Regions from separate parts of the Homo sapiens genome. Here region 2 is linked to region 1. The links are contacts of gene promoters, found by promoter capture Hi-C in blood cells and fetal thymus (Javierre and others, 2016). All regions are on one chromosome and are shown on one strand. The core of a region is centred on a gene start or on the middle of the fragment in contact, and the rest is flanking DNA. Distances in the headings are between cores, read along the strand shown. Region 1 holds the start of XPOT (exportin for tRNA). Region 2 holds the start of NUP107 (nucleoporin 107).

Region 1 (7,336 bases), core at 1,495-3,994:
TAGGTTTTGGATTTCAAAGACCTGGGTTTGTATCCCCATCTTGTCATTTTTTAATTGGGGCCACTTGGACAACTTACAAAACCTGAGAGAACCCTTTCTATGACATGGGAAAAAGACCATATGCCTCATAAAGTTGTAAAGGCTTCAAAGAGATAAGGTATGCAGAGCATGGCTGGCACATAGTGAGCCCTCAATACGTTGTTTATAGTCAGAGGTAGGAACATGTGGAATGGAAACGACTTGGGGCATTCTTATACCAGATCAGCATTTTTAAAAGACAGAAAAACACAAAGAAAGGCACTGGTTCCCTTCGCCCCCTAAATGTTAAGAAAATCTGATGTCCATTCCCCTGAAAAATGCCCACAGAGAGAAAAAACGATTTCGGAGTTTCTAAGAATCCCTGATTGAGAAGTCCAATAAAAGCTTCCTTGAATTTGCTATGGCTTTTTAAAAAAATGCTGGCCAGGCAGGGTGGCTCACGCCTATAATCCCAGCACTAAGGAAGGCCGAGGGGAGGGGGGCGCAGATCAACTGAGGTCGGGAGTTCGAGACCAGCCTGACCAACATGGAGAAACCCCGTCTCTACTAAAAATACAAAAATTAGCCGGGTGTGGTGGCACATGCCTGCAATCCCAGCTATTCGGGAGGCTGAGGCAGGAGAATCGCTTGAACCCGGGAGGCGGAGGTTGCAGTGAGCTGAGATGGCGCCACCGCACTCCAGCCTGGTCAACGAGAGCGAAACTCCATCTAAAAAAAATTGCTGGCTGGGCACGGTGGCTCACGCCTGTAATCCCAGCATTTTGGGAGGCCGAGGTGGGCGGATCACGAGGTCAGGAGTTCGAGACCAGCCTGACCAACACGGTGAAACGCCGTCTCTACTAAAAATACAAAAATTAGCTGGGCATGGTGGCCTGCGCCTGTAATCCCAGCTACCCAGGAGGCTGAGGCAGAAGACTCGCATGAACCCGGGAGGGGGAGGTTGCAGTGAGCGGAGATCGTGTCATTGCACTCCCGCCTGGGCGACAGAGTGAGACACTGTGTCAAAAAAAAGAAAAAGTGCTTAAGCTTGGTCAAGTCACTCTGAAGCTATCGGGAGAAAAATGAAGTGGCCCTAAGGAAAACATAGCCAATAAACCCAAGGAAACAAACTAGTTAACAGTTGTCACTACAGAAAGAATCCCCCACATAGAAGGCATTTGGACGATCAATATGCAGTGGAAGGCCGGGCGCGGTGGCTCACGCCTGTAATCCCAGCACTTTGGGAGGCTGAGGCGGGCGGATCGCGAGGTCAAGAGATCGAGACCATCCTGGCTAACACGGTGAAACTCCATCTCTACGAAAAATACAAAAAGTAGCCAGGTGTGGCGGGGCGCACCTGTAATAGAGCTACTCGGGAGGCTGAGGCTGCAGAATCACTTGAACCTGGGAGGCAGAGGTTGCAGTGAGCCGAGATGGCACCACTGCACTGCAGCCTGGGCGACCGAGCGAGACTCCGTCTCAAAACAACAACAACAAAACCCCAAAAAATGTTTCAATACGGTAAACAATTATGCATCTTGCAAAGGTTCTTGGGGGAAGGCAAGCAACATACTTAAAATATTAAGCCTTAACTTTTCCTGGATAGCCATTAAGAATCAAACAATTTGGAAAAATTCCTCTACACCTACTGAAGACTGTTTCAAATACTACGACTGAATCTTTCCAGCCTTTTAACACCACGCTGACAAGTCGGTTTAATAAAACGTAACTCTCCCCCAACCCCCGCCCGCCACAACTAATTAGCACTTTCAAAAAGTACTCGTTTTTCTGGTTACAGGGAAACCTCATGCTTCTCTAGTCCTGCAGGATGGTGAGGAAGGTTTGAGAAGAAATGGAGCGTCCGTGCTGGCCAATTACTGCACAGAAATAACACTTTTCCTTTTTGTCCAGGGGTGGGGGAAGAATCAAGTTTGAGGTCTCCACAGTTGATAACGCTACAACGATGACTAACGGGCTTCGGAACCACAGGCGATGCCGACCCTCCTCTGCTAGCCTTGCTCCCATCCCTCCCCCGATCCCTCCCCTAAAGGAAGCCTCGTGGCAATTCGGGTGATGAAACACCAAGCAACCGCCGGCCACGCACTCGGGACGCGCTCCTCGGCGGCGGCCCCGGCTCGTACCCACCCCCACCCGGTCCGCCCAGCCAGGGGGTGCACCGCCATAGAGGGTCCCAAGCCTGCACCCTCCCTGGCGTCGGGACTCCCCCGGGCCGGTCCGCCCCGGCCAACTTCCTCGAAGCCTCACGCGGACCAAACCTGGTCCCGGTCCCGCTGCCCCCGAGCCCCGAGTCACCTTCCCTATCACTCCATCCCGCCTCCCAGCCTGCACTCCAGATGGTCAGCCAGCGGAGCGGAGCGGCGCGGCACGCAGAGAGCTGGGAGAGCGGCCCTCGTCCTTGTCGCCGTAGTCCTCCGCCACGGCCGCAGCTACAACGCCAGAGACGGTGCTGGCCGGGACCGCGCGCCTCTAGTCGCTCTGCGTCCCCTGGCACCTTCTCTTGCGTGGCGCCGGGCAGGCAGGCAGGCAGGCAAGCAAGCAAGCAAGCAAGCGGGCGGGGTCGGCGCCCCAGGAAGGGAAAGAGCGCGAGGGCCGGCTAACGCCGCCGCCGCCGCCGCAGCCGCCGCCGCCGCTGAGTCAGCGCGAAGCGCGCTCCCCGCGTCGGTGCCGCGCGGGCGGGCGCCGGCGCCAGCAGTCTCTTGGAGAGTGCGGGCGGCAGCCCGCGGGCTGACGCCGGAGGCCTACAACTCCCAGCATGCAGGGAGCGGCCGGCGCTTCCGGGCGGCGAGGCGCACACGCGCTCCCTGGCGCTCGCCGGAAGGCGTGGTCACCGGGGCTTGAGGTGCATGCCGGGATGAGGCATCCGGCCCAGGAGTCCCTACCCAGCTCCTAAATCCCCGGCTGTGTCTGCGTGGTGTCAGAGCTCAAGCGTCAGGTTCGCCCCGAGCATTCCACAAAGGGCTTCTAGTAGTTGAGAGTACGGATTCACGAATCAGGATGACGTGGTTCTAACCACGTGTGAGTCAATTTAATTGCTTGTCTACGGCCCCAAGTGTCCCGAGTACAGCAGTGTAAAGCTCTGATGAGTGCTGACAGGTTTTCAAAATTAATTAATTAATTTATTTATTTATTCTTTGAGACGGAGTCTCGCTCTGTCGCCCAGGATGGGGTGCAATGGCGAGATCTTGGCTCACTGCAACCTCCGCCTCCGGGGTTCAAGCAGTTCTCCTGCATCAGCCTCCTGAGTAGCTGGGATGACAGGCGCGCGCCACCATACCCAGCTAATTTTTGTATTTTTCGTAGAGACAGGGTTGCACCATGTTGGACAGGCTGATCTCGAACTCCTGACCTCAAGTGATCACCTGCCTCGGCCTCCCAAAGTACTGGGATTACAGGCGTGAGCCACGGTGTCCGGTCCAAAATTTATTTTAAACAGACTAAAATTTTGTCCATGAAAAGAAGGAGAGCATTCTTAGGAAGTCCTACTCACGGGATCTTTCGATGCTACTAAATGTCACTTCATTTATTTGGTCACAGATTTATTAATTTATTAATGCAACATAGAGGCAGTGTAGGCTTAGGCTGCCTCGACTTGACTGCCACTCCGCCTCCTCACTAGTTGACCTCAGGCACTTTACTTTAGTCTATCCATGCTTCAGTTTACTCGTATGTAAAATGGGGATTGTTAATAGTACCGACCTCAAAGGGTTTCTGTGAGGTTTGAGTTAATACATGTGTTTGACACACAATGTGCTCAATATTTACATTTCATTGTTGATTATTCAATGTGTACTAAATACAGACTAGGTTGCTGCCACAGACTACAAACAAAACTTGGAGAGGGAGGAATGGTAAGAGCATAGAATAAAACTAATGTTTTAACAGCTACCTTTATTTAGCTGTCCAAGACACTACACCAGGCATTTCCTATATAAAATACCTTGAATCACTCTTGCATCATGTTTCTAATTTATGTGTTTAAAATGTCAGGCTAGTGGCTACAAGATGTCGCTAAAGGAGAACTGGGTTTTAATTTTTTCTTGTTTTTAGAGAAAGGGTCTCGCTCTGTTACCCAGTCTGGAGTAGAGTGGTCATAGCTCACTGCAGCCTTGACCTCCTGGGCTCAAGCAATCCTCCTGCCTCAGCCGCCCAAGGAGCTGGGACTACGGGTGCATACCATCATACCTGGCTATTTTTGTTTGTTTTTGTAGAGATGGGGACTTGCTCTGTTGCCCAGGCTGATCTCTAACTCCCAGGCTCAAATGAACCTCCCACCTCAGCTTCCCAAAGTGTTGGAATTACGAGTGTGAGTCCCTGTGTCAGGCCTTAATTTTCTTCACGCTGCTCTCAGTTGGCTTCCCAACGAAATAGGTTCTTTGTTGTTCTGGCATACAAATTTTCTTTTGATTGTAATCCTTGCATGCATTATGTTTCTACTATTCAAATTATTAATTATTCAAATTAATTATAAACAAGAAGTATCTCTTGTTTTACTTCTGAGAAAACCAAAGTCATGGTATTCTCAAGACTAGAGATAATTCAACAAAGCCTGTGAATCTCCCTCATTTGGAATCTCTCTGGGCCCAATCTGTTTTCCACTGCTAGGGCGCTGCTGCTAAAGCTATATCATATGAAACCACCCTCCCTAAAAGCTCAGGGACCATCTCCAAATAGGAGGGCGAGTGAAACTGTAAGAGCTGGATTGATGGGTGGAATCTGGAAGCTAAAGTAACTCCATCTTTGGTACTAATCTGCCATGTTGGTTTCTGATTAACCCTGTTCCCGGAAGGCCTTTAAGATTTCAAGTTGTGTGAGAGCACATACTGTAAATTCTGCCCTTACGTCAAAACAGCCTTGATGTTATTGTACTTCAGTTGTCTACACATCCTGACGTGGTTTGGCTGTGTCTCCACCCAAATCTCATCTTGAATTGTAATTCCCATAATCCCCTCATGTCATGGGCGGGATCAGGTGGAGATAATTGAATCATGGGGTTGGTTTCCCCCACCCTGTTCTCGTAATAGTGAGTTTTCATGAGATCTGATGGTTTTATAAGGGGCTTCCCCCTTTGCTGGGCACTCATTCTTCTCTCCCCTGCCACCATGTGAAGAATGATGTGTTTGCTTCCCCTTCTGCCATGATTGTAAGTTTCCTGAGGCCTCCTCAGCCCTGAGGTACTGTGAGTCAATTAAATCTCTTTCCTTTATAAATTACCCAGTCCCAGGCATTCCTTTATAGCAGTGTGAGAACAGACATAATACACATCCCTTCTGAATTACATATACCCTTTCCATATGGGGGTTAATGGTGAGGGGATCCACCATCTTGTTTCACTGCTGCTGGAGACACAGGCATGGCTTTTTTCACAAGTTGCTATGAATGTTATTTCTAAGAAAAAAAATCTCAGGCTAGGATTTCTGCCCTACCTATTTCAGTATATCTTTCGAGTCTAGCACAGTGCCAGCCTGCTAGTTTCAACTCAATAACTGAATCATTGCATGAATTCTTATATTAGCTGTGATGATCAACTGTGGAGTATGAAGGCCCAATACTAATCTTGGGCTGAGTGCCTCTGCAATCTGTATGTTCAGCATATTCCAGGCCTCATCCTAAAGAATATGGCAATTCAATCTATCGTATTATAGATGTCTTTACTTGCTGTTTTGTTTGTAAATTCATTTTATGGCTACTTCTTATGTTGAATGTTATACAAAGCCTATCTTCAGTTTATCTACAGTTTATCTACTAACATTAGCTCTTTCGTTTATGGTAGTTGAAATACCTAGAATTGTAGAAATCTCTTTCAACTTTGTAAACTCATATTATTTCAGAACAAATAAAGAGGCTAGGCGCGGTGGCTCATGCCTGTAATCCCGGCACTTTGGGAGGCTGAGGCAGATGGATCACAAGGTCAAGAGATCGAGACCAGCCTGGCCAACACAGTAAAATCACGTCTCTACTAAAAATACAAAAAAAAAATTAGCCGGGCATGGTGGCACATGCCTGTAGTCCCAGTTACTTGGGAAGCTGAGGCAGGAGAATTGCATGAACCTGGGAGGTTGCAGTGAGCCGAGATTGCGCCACTGCACTCCAGCTTGGGCAACACAGTGAGACTCCATCTCAAAAAAAAAAAGCCGGGTGTGGTGATGCATGCCTGTAATCCCAGCACCTTGGGAGGCCGAGATGGGTGGTTCAGGAGGTCAGGAGTTCAAGACCAGCTTGGCCAACATAGTGAAACCCTGCCTCTACTAAAAATACAAAAATTAGCAGGACGTGGTGGCACATGCCTGTAGTCCCAGCTACTCGGGAGGCTGAGGCAGGAGAATTGCTTGAACCGGGAGGTGGAGTTGCAGTGAGCTGAGATCGCACCACTGCACTCCAGCTTGGGCAACAGAGTGAGACTTCATCTCAACAACCACAACAACAACAACAACAAAAAGAACAAATAAAGAAGCACTTGGTAGAATCCAACTGAAGAGGACCTAAGAGAGGTATTACATTTGACCATTCCATATTCTGCCTCCTCCGTCCATGAAGGGATGGGCAGTTTCTCATCTCAGATGAAAATGTTAGTCATCAACATGTTGACAAATAACACTATCATTTTGTAACTGCCCAAAAGGCTCCTTTTGTAACTGCCCAATAGGTTCCCTGCTGCCTAGACAGACCCAATTTATCAAGATAGGGGAATCTCAATAGAGAAAGAGTAATTCACATAGAGCTCCCTGTATGGGAGACTGAGTTTTATTATTATTCAAATCAGTCTCCCTGAGCATTCAGGGATCAGAGTGTTTAAGGCTGATTTGATGGATGAGGGAAGGTCAGTGAATTGAGAGTGCTGATTGGTTGGATCAGAGATGAAATCAGAGAGAGTTGAAGCTGTCCTCCTGCGCACTGAGTCAGTTCCTGGGTGGCGGCCACAAGATCAGATGACCCAGTTTTTTGATCTGAGTGGTGCCAGCTGATCTATCAAGTACAGGGTTTGCAAAATATCTCAAGCACTGATCGTAGGTTTTACAATAGTGGTGTTATCCCCAGGAACAATTCGGGGAGGATCAGAATCTTGTAGCCTCCAGCTGCATGATTTCTAAACAATAATTTCTAATCTTATGGCTAATTTGTTAGTCCTACAAAGGTAGTCTAGTCCCCAGGTAAGAAGGGTGTTTTGGGAAGAGGCTGTTATTGTCTTTGTTTTAACTATAAACTCTAAACTAAGATCCTTCCAAAGTTAGTTCAGCCTATGCCCAGGAATGAACAAGGACAGCTTGGAGTTTAGAAGCAAAATGCAGTTGGTCAGATC
Region 2 (7,336 bases), core at 1,589-4,088, 4.3 Mb before region 1:
CTGCATTTAGCCTGGGTGACAGAGTGACTGTTTTTTTTTTTGTTTTTTTTTTTTAGACGGAGTCTTGCTCTGTAGCCCAGGCTGGAGTGCAATGGTGCGATCTCAGCTCACTGCAAACTCTGCCTCCCGGGTTCAAGCGATTCTCCTGCCTCAGCCTCTCAAGTAGCTGGGATTACAGGTGTGCACCACCATACCCAACTAATTTTTGTATTTTTAGTAGAGACGAGGTTTCACCATGTTGGCCAGGCTGGTCTTGAACTCCTGACCTCGTGATCTGCCCGCCTCGGCCTCTCAAAGTGCTAGGATTATAGGCATGAGCCACCGCGCCCGGCAACAGAGTGAGACTCTTGTCTCAAAAAACACACACACAAAAATCTGTTGTTTAAGCTACTCTCTCAAGAAAAAAAGACAGAAAGAAAGAAAAGAAAAACATAATGACGTTCAGAAACAGGAAGAAATGGTTTCCTTCATCTTGCTAAAGTGAAAAGCTACTTGTCACAAAGCTCAATGCCATTTTACCAGCTTCTCCAGGATCATCCTCACGTAACATAACAGCACTGATAGTTACATCTTCTGTTATACTGTGGGGCTCTGTGTTTGTGAACAGCCCGGAACGCTGTGATGAAAATGCAGCTGCCCAGTTACTGTCATCCAGATTAGTAACCTTAAAAAAAAACAAAAAAGTAAAAATACAGAAAAGTGATGGAGTTATTGTCACTGAGTGGATACTTTAAAAACAAATAAGGTTTCTAAAAATTATATGTATGTATGCGTCTTTTTTTTTTTTTTTCCCTTCTTGAGATAAGGTCTGGATCTGTTGCCCAGGCTGGAGTTCAGTGGCACGATCATGGCTCAACGCAACCTTTGCCTCTCAGGCTCAAGCCATCTTCCCACTTCAGCCTCCCAAGTAGCTGGGACTACAGGCACGTGCCACCACGCCTGGCTAATTTTTGTATTTTTGGTAGGTATGGGGTTTCACCATGTTGGCCAGGCTGGTCTCAAATTCCTGGCCTCATGTGATCCACCTGCCTCAGCCTCCCAAAATGCTGGGATTACAGATGTGAGCCACCATGCCCGGCTACTATAGTGTATTTTTAATACTTAGGTGAAGTCATTCTGCATCACAGCTTACATAACATTTCTTTTGCTATTTTTAATACTGTTCCATAGTGATTCCTAAAGAGTATCTCACCTACTTTTTCCAATTTTCTCTTTTATCCCCTTTAATACATTTTATCTCTTCCTTAAGATATTCTTCATCTGTTAACCTCTGATTCCTACTCTTGTATGCTTCAAAACAGGGATCAGATTTTATAGCCATCAGCAACCAACCACAGCATGTACTTCTTCTGGTCAGCAAACTGACAGATTAAAACATCTTATTTTCATCTAAAGGTTGCTGGTGTCACAGTTTCCATCTGTGATATCAGATGCATAAGGTTTTCAGTTTTTTTACTGTCTAATTATTTCAATCCATATAACCTAAAGTTACTGTTATGATGATTCTGACTCAATATTTGTTAAAAGACTTTTACATCAAATATCATATTTTTATAAAAAGGGAGAAGTTCTTTTTTCTCTTTTTTTTTTCTTTTGCAATCACAGGTCACTGCAACCTCTGCCTCCTGGGTTCAAGCAATTCTCACACCTCAGCCTCCCGAGCAGCTAGGATTACAGGCATAAGCCACCACTCCCAGCTAATTTTTTTATTGTTAGTAGAGACAGGGTTTTATCATGCTAAGCAGGCTAGTCTCAAACTCCTGACTTCTGGGAGGCCAAGGCGGGAGAATCACTTGAGGTCAGGAGTTCAGGGAGTGCTGAGATTACAGATGTGAGCCACCACACTCGACCCAAAAGGAGTTCTTAGCCCTATTTTTCTACATACCATGGAGAGATTTCCAAAGAACCCTGAAGACTGCGTAAGTCGGGGCGACTTCCCTCCTGTTCCAAGAATGCAGGAAATATCTGGCTGCCTTAGTAAGCTTCGGCTTGTTGGGGTAACTATAAACAAAAGGTTGGTAGAAAGAACCTAAAGTGCGTGAGCATTCATTATCAAAACAAAGTAAGCAAACAAACAATGAAGAATAAATTTTTCAGTTTTCCATTATTTAGACTCTAACCAAATAAATACTTTAAATGTTAACATTTCCATGATACAAGGATTTAACTTATTTTTCTAAATTTGAGCTGTAGGTACTACTGAGCCTAACAGGAAACATTTTACTGCAATTACAGATGCTTTCATTATAGAATAACTGAGCAGTTAAAGACACTAATCAGTCAACGGATTCTTCATATTTTAATTTTATAAGGCATACTGAGGCAGTGCAGTGTAGTGGGCATAAACTTTGGAGTAAACAGATCATTGTTTGAATCCCAGTTCCATTATTTACATACTCTTTTTTTTCTGTCTCAGAACAAAAAAAGAGTATGTAAATAATGGAACTGGGATTTTTTTTTTTTTTGCTCTGTCGCCCCAGCTGGAGTACAGTGGCACAATCTCAGCTCACTGCAACCTCTGCCTTCCGGGTTCAAGCAATTCTCCTGCCTCACCCTCCGGAGTAGCTGGGATTACAGGCATGTGCCACCACGCCAGCTAATTTTTGTATTTTTAGTAGAGATAGGGTTTTGCCATGTTGGCCAAGCTAGTCTTGAACTCCTGGCCTTAAGTGATCCACCCACCTTGGCCTCCCAAAGTGTTGAGATTATAGGCATGGGCCACTGCATCCAGCCTATTTACATACTTATTGTATATATTAGTTAACTTCTCTAAGTCTCACTTTCAGTTTTGGTAAAACAGGGCCAACAATACCCATGTCATAGTTACCGTGTGTTTATGGAAAGTACAGTACCTTGTACATGGCAAGAGTTCAAACGAATAATAACTGCAATCATTATTATTAGTGCTTATTGATATCGTAACCAAATACTATACTAATTATGTTACAATAAATGTTAGTTGCTATTATAATTACCGTTATTATTAAATGCTTTAAAAGCAAAAAATCTTACAAGGCTGTCGAAATGAGCTAGGAGTTCGAGGGATAACCTGGTTTCTTGGTGTAGTATTACCAAAATTTTCATCTTGAGATGCCTGAACTGTACAACGAGTTAAGAAAAGTTTTCCATGTAGAAAAGAGATCACTAAAATGAGAATTAACCATCTTTTTACTATACAAATTATGTGAATACATTTTTCAAGAACAAGTATTTTAGGGCTACCATTTTTCAATGCAAAGGGTAAATAATTCATTGCTTCTGCCATTTAAATGATCAGATGTCAGTCTTAGATAACTACACACTGAACTAAATGTTTTTAGTCAGTTTTCAAATAATAAAAAGAAATCTAATCTCAGCAGAAGCTGTCAGCAGTAAGAAATATCTTTATTTTTAGGGAAATACGATCTCATTAAATTTTTGCATTATATTTACCAAATGACAGCTCTGTGGAGTGAAAAAAAGTTTCTACAGGATTTTATTATAGCTACCATTTAATACTCTTATAAAAAGAAAATTCTACAACACTGATTCCAAACATGTTACAATTTTTATAATGATGCTTAAATCGCAAAGGATACGTAAAACTCTTTTCTGAGCACTCTGTTTCCGTGCAGTCCGTGTCACCTCTGCCTCCCGGATTACAGGGGATGATATCTCTCCAAAGCCACTCCTAAAGTAGTATAATCAAGCTTATATAAGTGAAACGAGAATATAGCATTTATAAAGAATTTTATCATCACAGTTGGAGTAAAGGACCCTGAGTAAGTTAAGGTATAGTCATTCTAGTAGCCAAGTCTTAGATCTTTTGTTGAGAACGCACTCCTGGCTCCAAATCCTGCTTATTCTTCAAAGCCTTACTCAAATCTTACCTGCACAAAGACTTCTCTGACTTTCTAGTACTCACTATGTTATTTTCTCCTAAGGAATTATTTCAACACTTGGAATCTATATTATAACACTGTTTTAGATAATTGCTTCATGAAAGTGAATCTTATTTCCCTTGTTGGATTGAGGAGTTACCTAACTGCAGGAATTCTCTCTTAAAAGATTTTCTGCAGTCTCCAAAATGCTTTAAACCATGGGTACTATTAAAAAACAAACAAACAACAACAACAACAAACAGAGCTTGCAACAACAACAACAAACAGAGCTTGTGAGATAGAAGGGTAAGTAAAAGAATTGTGGTAAATTGGAGCAAAATGACCCTTCAAGTTATTTCAACCCAGGAGGTCTCCTGTCCCATCACAACACTCCCTGTCAGTTTCACTCAAAGGTCTAGAAACTAAATTGTGCGGACTAAAAGGCCTGTGTTTAAGACAAGAATCTAATATGCTTTTCCTCCACTTAAAACCTTCAGATATTCCTTCAGCAGGAAAGTATGGGAAACAACCACATAGAAACAATTTTAAACGTTTAACAATTAAAATTAAAAACAAAAAAAAAAACCTTCAGATAGCTCTCTGGTCTATAGAAGTAAAAATTTCCTAAAATGATATTTACAATGTGACCCCAGTTTAGGGGTTCAGTCTTCTATTCAGCCACAAACATCACTTTAAACGTATACTGCATGTGACCACTGAGCTACACGTACTTTTTTTTCATATCCTAGCACCTCTGAATATGCTTCTTTTACAAAGACCTACATTTGCCCCCTTGAGCACCTGGTCAACAACTACTTACTCCTCAAAGAGCCTCAGGTAGGCTGGAGACACACAGATGCAGGTTGGCAATTTGGTTCTTGTATTTATTAGCTTCCGAACTTTCAGCAAGTTCCTTAACCTCTTTTAGTCTCAGTGTTATATATGAAAAAAGGATAACAGTACCCATCTCATAGGATTTTTCTTGTTCTGAAGATTAAATAAGCTAATAATATATATTCAACGCCTTTAGAACAATGGCAGTCACATAGTAGGTACTCAATGTTTGGAGTACGAATAATGTACTCTTATTATTCAAAGACCAGCTAGAAAGTTACCTTCTTTGAGGGGTCTTCCTGATAGTTACAGTGACAAGGAGACTTAATCGCCCCCAAACACTTACCACTTTACACTGCTTGGTTGTCTCCATTACACAACTAATTCCCCGAGGGGAAGGATCTTGAATAACTGATCTTTGTTGTAGGCGGCTAGCACAGTACCCAGATCATAGAGGGAACTCAGAATCTGATGCTGGCACTTGTAATCAGAAAGTCTGGGCTGAGATCCCAGTATCTTCACTGACTGGCTTTGTGATCTCAGGCTGGTCACTTAGCATTTCGAACGCCGCGCTACCTACCCCGCCCACCCCAGGAGCGAACAGTGTTGCTGCCCCAAAGCGCCGAATAGATCGCAGAACGTAGTGGGAAAGTAAGGGACTATTATGATCTGTACCCCACCCCGACGCACGCCAAGCGGCTTTTTCCCCATTTGTGGCCAAATTTCCCGGCATGGGGAAGGAGCCTTAGGGGAAGCACCCGGGACCTCCTTGGCTTCTTCTGGGAGTCTAGTTTCACCTATTTCGTTTCGCCAACAGGCGAGACGGGCAAGACTTCGGGCTCAGCTGCCACCATCAGTACTGACCTGTCCATGGCTAAAGCCTTTTCCACACACAACCAAAGTTGGCTGCAGTTTAGCTACCGCGTTTTAGCCTTCCCGCTCTCCGGAAGCAAGCCCTTCGACCCGGAAGCAGTCTGTCCCTAAAACAGACCCACAGAAAAGGGGTAGGGGAGAAGAAACAACGTTCCCATCTAGCGCATGCGCGACTTCAGCCTACAGGTGCACGCCCGGTGGGCGCAGGCGCAAAAGTTTGCCAATGTGTTCCTGGTTGCGTTTAGCCCAGACGCCCTGCGGCCGCTTTGCCTGACCAAAGTCTGTGGGCGTGGAACAGGCCCTGGGTTCTCCTACTGGGAAGAATGAAGTATGTTGATAGTCTGGAAAAATGTGAAGTCATTTCCTGGTATTCTCTGTCAGAAAGCGCCTGTTCTTGGAATTCAGATGCGTGGGCTCTGCCCCACACCTCGGGGATCTCTATCTCTCTGCCTACACTCAGTCCTTTGTTCTGTAGCCCCCTGCAGTTTTTGCAACTATTTTCCATAACTGCTATTTGTTCTTTACTTGGTGTTCTTTCCTATTAAGGAGAAAAAGTTCACCTGTATTAAAAAGTAGAAAGGCAAGCGTGAAATATGATGGTATTGCCCTCTATTTCAAAGTGCCGTCTAGGCAAAAAGTGGTGTATTTTGGTCTTGAAGGAGTCAGTCACATTTTTGTTTTGGTTTTTGTTTTTTCCAGTTTGAAAGTAGTGACTGGCTATTAACTGACCAGATTACAAAAATAATGTTAGATGCTTCAGTTTATCCGTTTAATAAGCCTGTTGATATAGTCTTTTCTGTTGCTGGCATTTATACCTTTTATTAATACAAAATAGGTAGTCCTTCATTCTCCCTCGTGGAGAAGATAATTTGAAGGATCACAGGAACTTGAGTTTTTCAACAGCATAGATCTCATGAATCAGATTCTCCAGTCAGATGATGCCATATTTATCAGGAAATCTAGCAATCAAAGCGTTATCTGTTAAGGTAATTTGTTTATTGATTTTGCCATAACCAATTTGTAGATCAGTTCATTTACTGATTTCAGGTTCAGGTACTCCATGTGATATATGGTTCCACAATCCTCAGCGTGTTAACTGAAGCCTTGTTGAGTTTAACAAAGCTGCCATTGAAGATCTGGGGAAAGTGAAGAAGTTGCAACAGAGTTTTGGGCTCACACCATTGATACATTTGATCCTTAAGGCAAGTGACAATTTGGGTTTCACAGGTATATAGAAATTGCCAGCTTTTCTTGCCATATATTTCTTGTGACAGTGCTGAGCTTTTTTTTTTTACTTCTTGCTTGCTTTTTTTTGGACTTGATTTTTTAAATTATGTTTCCTTCCTTCCTTCTTTCTTTGTTTTTTTTTTTTTTGAGACAGGATCTTGTCCTATTGTCCCGGCTTACGTGCAGTGGCACAGTCACGGCTCACTGCAGCCTTGACCTCCTGGGCTCCAGCAATCCTCCTACCTCAGCCTCCCTAGTACCTGAGGTTGCTGGGACCACAGGCACGCACCACCATGCCTGACCTCCTCTCCTCCCCCGTTTTTTAAAAATATTTTGGAGAAATGGGGTCTTATGTTGTTGCCCAGGCTGGTCTCAAACTCTTGGGCTCAAGCCATCCTCTTACCTGGGTCTCCCAAAGTGCTGGGATTACAGGGGTTAGCCACCACATCTGACAGTGCCTAGCTTTTTCATAGATGTAGCTTTCTCCTTGCTTTTCTTTTTCTTTTTTTTCGAGATGGAGTCTCATTCCATTGCCCAGGCTG

Evidence for each region. Contacts are between HindIII fragments. The CHiCAGO score rates a contact against its expected background, and 5 or more counts as called.
Region 2: a contact is called between a fragment that was not itself captured here and the fragment with the promoter of XPOT in region 1, in 1 of 17 cell types (neutrophils). The highest score is 6.2, in neutrophils.

What each region holds. Positions count from the first base shown.
Region 1 is chr12:64,399,800-64,407,135 of GRCh38, reverse strand. XPOT (exportin for tRNA) reads right to left here and starts at 2,744. Exons shown (of 25, transcript NM_007235.6): 1 at 2,332-2,744. RefSeq lists enhancers at 1,146-2,022, 3,120-3,169 and silencers at 2,130-2,239, 2,570-2,729. The HindIII fragment of the contact is 10,073 bases long and covers 1,068-7,336 here.
Region 2 is chr12:68,685,296-68,692,631 of GRCh38, reverse strand. NUP107 (nucleoporin 107) reads right to left here and starts at 5,654. Exons shown (of 28, transcript NM_020401.4): 1 at 5,559-5,654; 2 at 3,579-3,670; 3 at 3,013-3,099; 4 at 1,886-2,001; 5 at 520-664. The coding sequence starts at 5,566. LOC100507250 (a long non-coding RNA gene) reads left to right here and starts at 5,773. Exons shown (of 3, transcript NR_038930.1): 1 at 5,773-5,895; 2 at 6,615-6,769. It also overlaps the pseudogene RPL7P42. The HindIII fragment of the contact is 1,707 bases long and covers 1,985-3,691 here.